2 separate regions of the Homo sapiens genome follow, and region 2 is linked to region 1. Evidence: promoter capture Hi-C in 16 types of primary human blood cells and fetal thymus (Javierre and others, 2016). All regions are on one chromosome and are shown on one strand. The core of a region is centred on a gene start or on the middle of the fragment in contact, and the rest is flanking DNA. Distances in the headings are between cores, read along the strand shown. Region 1 holds the start of KEL (Kell metallo-endopeptidase (Kell blood group)). Region 2 overlaps EPHB6 (EPH receptor B6).

Region 1 (3,861 bases), core at 61-2,560:
GAGGCCAGGTAATGATCCCGGAGATCCAAACACACAGATGTCTCACAGGGGCCTGTGGGGAAAAGCTCAGAGCTGGGAAAGAAGAGGCAAAAAGACAAGGGCTCCCCCAAGGGGCTAGGCAAAGAACATCAGGTGAGTAACTAAGTGGGGAGCTGATGAAAAAGAAATGGTTAGGATGCAGGGAGGAAGAAGAACCATGGGGACCCCAAGGGTCAGGGTGGGCAGAAGCCCCAGGAGCAGGGACTGGGCCTGGGCCCCAGGGCTGGGGGAGGGCTGACTAGGTTAGGGGGTCTGGGATCTTGCTTACGAGGGCCACAGTTCTGGAAGTTGTAGAACAAAAGCACAGAAAAACAAAGGAGCAGGCCCAAAATCAGGATAGCTGTCAGCACCCGCCTGGCCACTGCCCATGGCCTGCTCCCTTCCACGGGCAGCCTCTCTTCTGGAGTGCTCTGTGGGAGGAACCAAGAGGTGAAAGATACAAGATGGGGGTTGAGAGACAGGGATGGGAAGAAGAGGAGAGAGAATGAATCTGTTGGTGCTACAGTCCCTTTATACAGAAATAATTATCCCAATTCTTCCTAAACCCAGCCCTACTTTAACTCCTGGGAGATGAGAAAACAAGGAATGTCAACTGTTTTGGGTGAGGATGAAGCAGACAGTTAGTAGATGAGTGTTTGTGGGATTTTAGAGCCGAGAGTGACAACATCAGTGTATTCCAGACCCAGGAGAGGAGGCCACTTACCTCTTGGCTCCAGAGAGTTCCCATTCCACCTGCCTGGCTGCGTTCCCTCGGCTCTTCCTCACTTTGGTCCCCACCTTCCTGAAGTGAGTGGAGGGAGAAGGAGGAGAGAGAAGCTGGTTCAGGAAATGGTGCATTGAAGAGAGTTTTATCAGGCCATTTTGATACCCTCGCTGCCTGCCCTGCCCCCACACACATATTTTTATCTCGGAGCAGTGTTCCCAGATGGGCTTCAGAACGAACCTGTCCCCTGAATGTGCCATTTCTCGATCCCTCTCCCATTACCTCCCTCTCTCCCCACCTTTCTACTCTGTAAGCCTTACATTCCCTCCCCTCCAGTGGGGGCAGGACTTTTGCACACAGCCACCCTCACCCCTCCCCGCTAAGCCTCTGACTCCAAAAGGGGACTTACCATCTGTCTATCTTCTGTGGCTCCAGAATCCTTCCTGGTTCCACTCTAGGAGCTGATTCGGAGGACTGGGGTCCAGGAAACACCCCCCGCCCCAGTTCCTTGATCCTGGAGAAGGGGCACTTCTGCTGCTCTTTCGCCTTGTCCCCAGACACACAGGACTGGCCTCTGGGTGGAGCCTGCTTATCAGTGGGGGGCACCCAGGCTTCTCCTCCCCCTTTATCTCAGCTTCTCAGGGGAGAAGAGGGAGGGAGTCTTCACTCCCCAAGCAATCTTGCCCTTGGTCTGCTCCTTTTGTCTTGCACTGTGACTCTGCCCATGAAGTTCCTTTATTTCTAAAATATTCTTCCTTCTCTCATTTCTTCTGTATTAAAAAAAATATGAGGCACAGTAAAATTTTAAAGAGTTTATTTAAGTAAGAAGCAATTCATGAATTGGGGAGCACCAGACCGACAAAGGTTTAGTGTTGCGATGACAAAATGTCAGAGGCAAGCATTTATTGGGAAGTTATAGAAGCAAAATGAAACATTATTTGCTTAGTTTGCAGTTACATAATTGCATTTTTTAGGTAACTTTTTGGAAAGTCCCTAGTCACATAATCATATGTTAGTTGGCTGCTTATCATTGGCTGGGGTTAAGTTTTATTTGTTGTAAGCATTTATCAGAAATTGACCCAAGTTAAGTTTAATTTATGTTTGTAGTTTTAGCAAGAATATGGCTATTTTTAAGGTCTTTGGCTTTGTTTGCCTGGGAATTTTTCAGGCCCAGTCTCCATTTTAATTTTGTTTTCACACCTCTCTGATTGGCTTTTCTGGGATTCATCAATTCCCAGGTCAAATGCCACCTTTCCCAGGAGGCCTCCCAGCTCCATGCCCATTCACACTGTTCCCAAGCATGCTTAATTGTTTCTCTCGGTGTTTCATAGCTCTGCTGGCTGCTGGCAAAGTCATGCATTCAAAAGATCACCCAGCTAGGAGACCCTAATCTGCTAATTATTAGCTCTGTGACAATAAACAAGCCACTTAAACTCTGAGGCAGGTAAGCAAGTTTTGTCATCTGGAAAATGAGGGTAATACTTGCCTATGCCTACCTCATAGGATCTCATGCCTTCTACAAAAGAATAAGGCTTTACTGAGCCCCTCTTTCTTTCATTCTGCTTTCTGTTACACTGATAGCTTGCCTCTTCATCTCCTTAGTGATTGAAAACTATGTCATAGCATGTACAGTGTCTGGTTTTCATTCCTGCCCACCCAAGATGCTTTCTAAATGTTAATAGAAATGAATTGCATTCCAAGCCAGAAATCCTCTTTCTCACATCATATTAAGCCCTTACCTGTGGTCTGAGAGAGGCAAGCACATTTCTGGGGGAAGGTGTTTCAACTCTGTCCTTGTTTCCTCATCCCAGGAAAAAAATAATGTAATTTATTAGGTTAGTCTTGCAAATGATCCCCTGGCGATATTTCCAGATTCCATCAGCACTGTGCTAGGGCCATGGTGCACTTGCCAGGATGAGGGTGGGTGTGGAGAAGTGGAGTAAAGCCATTGTGCCCCCTGGGGCCAGCTGGTCGGGTATCATGAAAGTCATAAAGAAAAGTCAGAACTTCATACATTAGAAAAGAAAGCATTGGGAAAAATAAGGCTTTTGAGGAAAGGTGTGGCAAGATACAATAATATCTAAGAAACGCCGGTGTGGTATTGGGGATCTGGACTGATTGGATAAAAGACAAGAAACAGAGTGGTTAGTTTGGTGTTGCAGGAGTGATGAAGGGAGGGCCCGGCCCAAGGGGATGGCAGAGGGGAGGGAAGTGCGTAGAAAGAAAAATTGTATGGAATAAAGTCATGGCAATGGATTGAATGGAGGAGGGGTTTATGATAGAGCCACAGAGGAGCTCCAAGTTGCATTTCTGCATGACTAGGGGAATAGTGATGCCAGCGAACAATGGAATTTTGATTAAGGGGGGAGTAGGAATCAGAGTGAGGGGAAAAAGCTGACTCAGGATTCTAGAGGTGTTTGGTCTGTGTGGGTACACCCTGATGGTGCCTCCTCTTCAAACTTCCCTTCCACAGAAAGTCCAATACTCTCCCCATGGGCTTTTAGCTTCCTTCACACATATTCCCTTCCTCACTCCTTTTCTATCAATCAAAGCCCCTGAGCTGATGTTTCCCTAGGAAGATGATAATGGAGACCACTTAGATTTGATAAGAGAAAGTTGAAGATGGAGTGTGCTCTGTGACATTTGCCTATGGACAGCCACCACAGCCTGGACTTAGGTTCTCTCCCTGTCAGAGAAGCTGAGCCAGCCACAGGGATAGGGCAGCACAGCTGCCAGGTCCACCATTCCTACTCAGCCTCCTCCTGAAGGCCAAGCAACCTCCATCCTGGGAGCTGTCTCAGGAGCAGGACTTCTTCTTATCACCCATATCCTACTCCATGGTGAGTCATCACCAGCACAGCCATACCCAGTCACGGGAGTGCAGCAGCCTTCACTCAGATCTAAGCCCCGAGAAGAGGTGTGTTAACAGCTGTGGCACATGGACCACATTTATCTTTTCGGATGCTGCCTCCTTCTTGCCCTCAATTGTCCTGTCTGTTTATTTTAATTCCAGGAGGTTTTGTTTCATGCCATAATAGTATCAAAATAAAATATTGGTAATAATAAAAATAACCACTTTTTACGGAGCACCTTCTTTGTGCTAGGAATGTGCTAAATGT
Region 2 (3,849 bases), core at 1,329-3,828, 100 kb before region 1:
TGTCCTCTGCTAGGTAATCTACAAATTGGCTTCTCCAGCCAAGGAAGCAGGGACTAGAAGAGCCGGAGGACAGCCACCTCCTCACTGTCTGTCCTGGATGCCTCCATGAAGCCTGATGATGGGATCCTTCTCAAGGCAGGAGGCCAGAGCACGAAGAGATCTCCAAGGTGGAGATTAAAGGATAGAGGCTTTGGCATTAAACTGAGCAAGGATTATACTGGAATTTCCTGGGCGTTTAACAGCTGTGGAACAGGATAGGGGACAGGGCCTGTGGTACTGACCCCTCCCACACTGACCTGTGTGGCTCACAGGTGTAAGGACCAGCCCAGCAACCACACCAGACATAAAACCTCGAACCGCTTTGCCCTTGGGACTGTTCTGTCCCTGCTGGACTCTGCAGCCTGCTTTGTCTCACTAAATTGTTCCTGTCTGGGCTCGGTTTGGGGCCATGCCCTTTACTATGTGTTCCCAGTGGACAGTCCCCTGGGTTCCCCTCTGTCCCTTCATAGCCTCATCCCTTTGCTTGACATCGTCGAAGAGAAGCATGCATGATGTCAGCAGCGGGACAGTTGGAACTTCTTGGGAGACAAGCTTAAAGACTAGCCAGAGATAACAATTATTTTGGTTTTCTTGTTGGCATTACTTCACTCATTCATTCTCAGCTCCTACTGTATTTCCACCTCTACCTTCTTCTTATAGATGAACATTTCTTGATATTTTGAAACATAGAAGGAAAATGGCATGGGGAGTGAATAAAATGTAAACGTATGCTTATTTGTCTAGGTTTTACAAATATTTTTCTTTTTTGTTTAGATTTTAATTATGAGATTTTACGTTAATTATAAAAATAAGGTATGCTTACTGTAACAAGAAAAATAATTGAATTATGTGTAAGACAAAATTAATGCCCCCACCTACAATCCTTCATTTCTACCTCCCACAGTAACCCATTTTAATGGCCTAATATGTCTTCTGCCTACCTTCCTCCAAGCTTATTTGGCTTACATTATTTAATCTTTAAAAATTCACTTTGTGGATTGAGGTGCATAAACTATATTAAGTAAGCTTGATTTGCTCATGAAAATATCATATTTAGCATTTAATTGGAGCACGATTAATTTTTTAAATTCTTACCAATTTACCAATTTAATTTACTTTTAAGTCATTCTTTTTTTTTTTTTTTTTTTTTTTTTTTTTTGAGACAGCATCTTGCTCTGTCGCCGAGGCTGGAGTGCAGTGGCACGATCTCGGCTCACTGCAAGCTCTGCCTCCCGGGTTCACGCCATTCTCCTGCCTCAGCCTCCCCAGCAGCTGGGACTACAGGCACACGCCACCACGCCCAGCTAATTTTTTTTTTTTTTTTTGTATTTTTAGTAGAAACGGGGTTTCACCGTGTTAGCCAGGACGGTCTCGATCTCCTGATCTTGTGATCCGCCCACCTTGGCCTCCCAAAGTGAAATATTTCATTTTTATAGCAACATAACTCGTAAGCTATGCTTTGTAACCTATGATTCTACAAATCTTTACTTTTTGCCAGTTTCTGAAAACAAAACACAACCTTGATACCTAAGAAACAGTCTTATTTTTGTAAACCAAAGAGATGTAGCAGGCTTGTGGATCTATTGTCTCTACTGTATCAAAAAGATATTAAGTGATATATCTATAAAAGAAGCTGAGAACATATTATAAAGTCATAGACTGCAATTTTTGTTACCTAAAACTTTGTCTAATCCGTCTCGTTTTCTCCACCATTGTTTTATGTTCACATTTCTGCTGCTTCTGGTTTTATATTTTTAAAACCTTATACACATCTGAAATGTGAATATTTTTCTAAAGGAGATAAGTTCTTTTGCACATTCTTGTGTTAGAGAATTTCTAAATACTGACCAGTTCCTTTTGTAAGTCAGAGGAGAGAGGACTCTCAAGCAGGCTGTGAGAGAGGAGCAAGGGGCCTGGCTTTGCAGAGGCTGCTTCCCATCTCTGTGGCAGGAGAAATGTACTGGCCTGTCCCTGGGATGCTCTCCTGGACCAAATGCAGAAGATGCTCCATGCCCACAACCATTGAAGACACCTTTGAAAAATCAAGTTCTGAGTCCTGCTTACTTAGCATTCCAGGCATGTGGAGCAGCCGTGTTCTTGTCACTTATGTTTCTGCCTTTGAAATTGGCTTCAAAAGAATCTGCAGTGGTATGAATTTGCTGACAGCAATTTATTCCATATCTTAATAAAGCTTCCTTTTTCTTTATTTGGATTCCTGCAACAGGGGTACACCCATATTCTTTTTATATATTAAAATTAAAAGTCTTGAATTTATCTGGTTTGTTTGATAAGTAAGAACTCACCTAACTTCCTAGTCTGACTCAGCAACAATTTTTTTTTTCTGAAAAAATGTATTTATAACCTTCAGTCATCTGGATCTGAATCTAAAAGAGGTCCTCATCAAACATTAGAAGTATCCTTCTGGGTACTTTAAGATCCTCAACCATTTCTTTTTAATGAATATCTTTGTTCTTAGTAAAATTTCAAAAAATTGCTGAAGTGGTCATCCACAGGCAGTGTCTCCATTTTCTTCTTTTCTTTATGCTGTTTCTTGATGGCAGAAGCTGAGTGGCCTTAACATCCATGTTTCATAATTGCTTTTGCTCTTTTCTGGATCTTCTGGAGGGAGGCCAGCTTCGTGTTGTCATTACGAGGCATGCTAAGGCTATGCAAGCACGCCCTATTGCAACCACAAGTGACTGTGTTCCTTGTAGTTCGGGTCATCAAAGCAAATATCTTGCTATTCATCTTCCAGAGTGTTCCATATTGGACAGCTGATACTATCTGCAGCGCATCTTTTCTATCTTGCTTGGCTGTCTTTCAAAATAATTCATTGAAATATTTCCAAAATATTTATTGTTCCTTCTTCATGATTATTTGCCTAGTTGTAAGCTTGAGAAGACACAGGGCTTACTGTTTCTTCTTTGTACAGATTACAGAATCCATCCATGTTCTGAGTGAAAGAAAGAGACTATTTTAAAGAATAACTTCTAGGCAAATGGTAAAATAGCCTTCATTGTTTAAAAACCTGCTGCTGGCATTTTCTTTCCCTGATAACAGTATTTCTAAGGACTCCGTGACTCTGGTTTGCTTCAGTGTGTCAAGCACGTCTCCAAATTAAGCCATTGAGAGTTTGGAGGGGATGCACTTACAACATGAATTACTTTAGGATATTTATTAAACAGCCACTGGTGACGGTGCCAAGGTTACAGAATTTAATAGCTATGCCTGCTTTTTACTTCATGATCTCCCCGTTCCTCTCCAAAGCATTTATTTCATCTGTGAAGGATCCTAGTAACATTTCAGACATTTTTGCAAAGAACATTACTTAAGAGCAATTTGCCATATGGAAATGCTCCTTACTTGTCTCCATAGGCTGTAAATTGAACTCTCTATTTCACAAATAGGGTTAAAGATGTATAAAAGGTGAGTTTCAGGGGCTAGTTGGCAGGTGCCCACTCTACATCAGCCCACGCGTATGTAGAAATGGTGTATTTCCATGATAACTTCATGGACAGCACAGCCCGCAGTGCCAGAAAAAAATTAGTAGGAATCAAATTATGATTTTCATATTTGTTGCAATTAAAGTTTCATAGTTTGATTTTTGTTTTATGATAGCTTTCAACAATCCCAAGGCCATATATATCCAGGAAAAACAAATCACAACTTCTCTTCTAATTGGCTTTTTTTTTGTTTTCCTCTCAGTTCTATGTCTTTTGAGCAATCTGGGCAACATGTCTCTTTTTTTTCTTCACAGAAATAAAGGGATTATAGTCCACCCAATTCACAGACTTCTGAGACTCAGACACG

Evidence for each region. The method cuts DNA at HindIII sites, captures the fragments that hold promoters and counts their contacts. A CHiCAGO score of 5 or more calls a contact.
Region 2: a contact is called between a fragment that was not itself captured here and the fragment with the promoter of KEL in region 1, in 4 of 17 cell types (erythroblasts, M0 macrophages, megakaryocytes and 1 more). The highest score is 7.5, in erythroblasts.

Annotation. Positions count from the first base shown.
Region 1 is chr7:142,961,053-142,964,913 of GRCh38, forward strand. It overlaps KEL (Kell metallo-endopeptidase (Kell blood group)), which reads right to left and starts at 1,311. Exons shown (of 19, transcript NM_000420.3): 1 at 1,152-1,311; 2 at 743-820; 3 at 308-449; 4 at 1-52. The coding sequence starts at 1,154. RefSeq lists a silencer at 1,075-1,270 and a cis regulatory region at 3,393-3,794. The HindIII fragment of the contact is 12,002 bases long and covers 1-3,861 here.
Region 2 is chr7:142,857,256-142,861,104 of GRCh38, forward strand. EPHB6 (EPH receptor B6) reads left to right here. Exons shown (of 20, transcript NM_004445.6): 2 at 3,797-3,849. Among named protein-coding and RNA genes, the nearest start is that of EPHB6, 4.1 kb to the left of the region's middle. The HindIII fragment of the contact is 701 bases long and covers 2,229-2,929 here.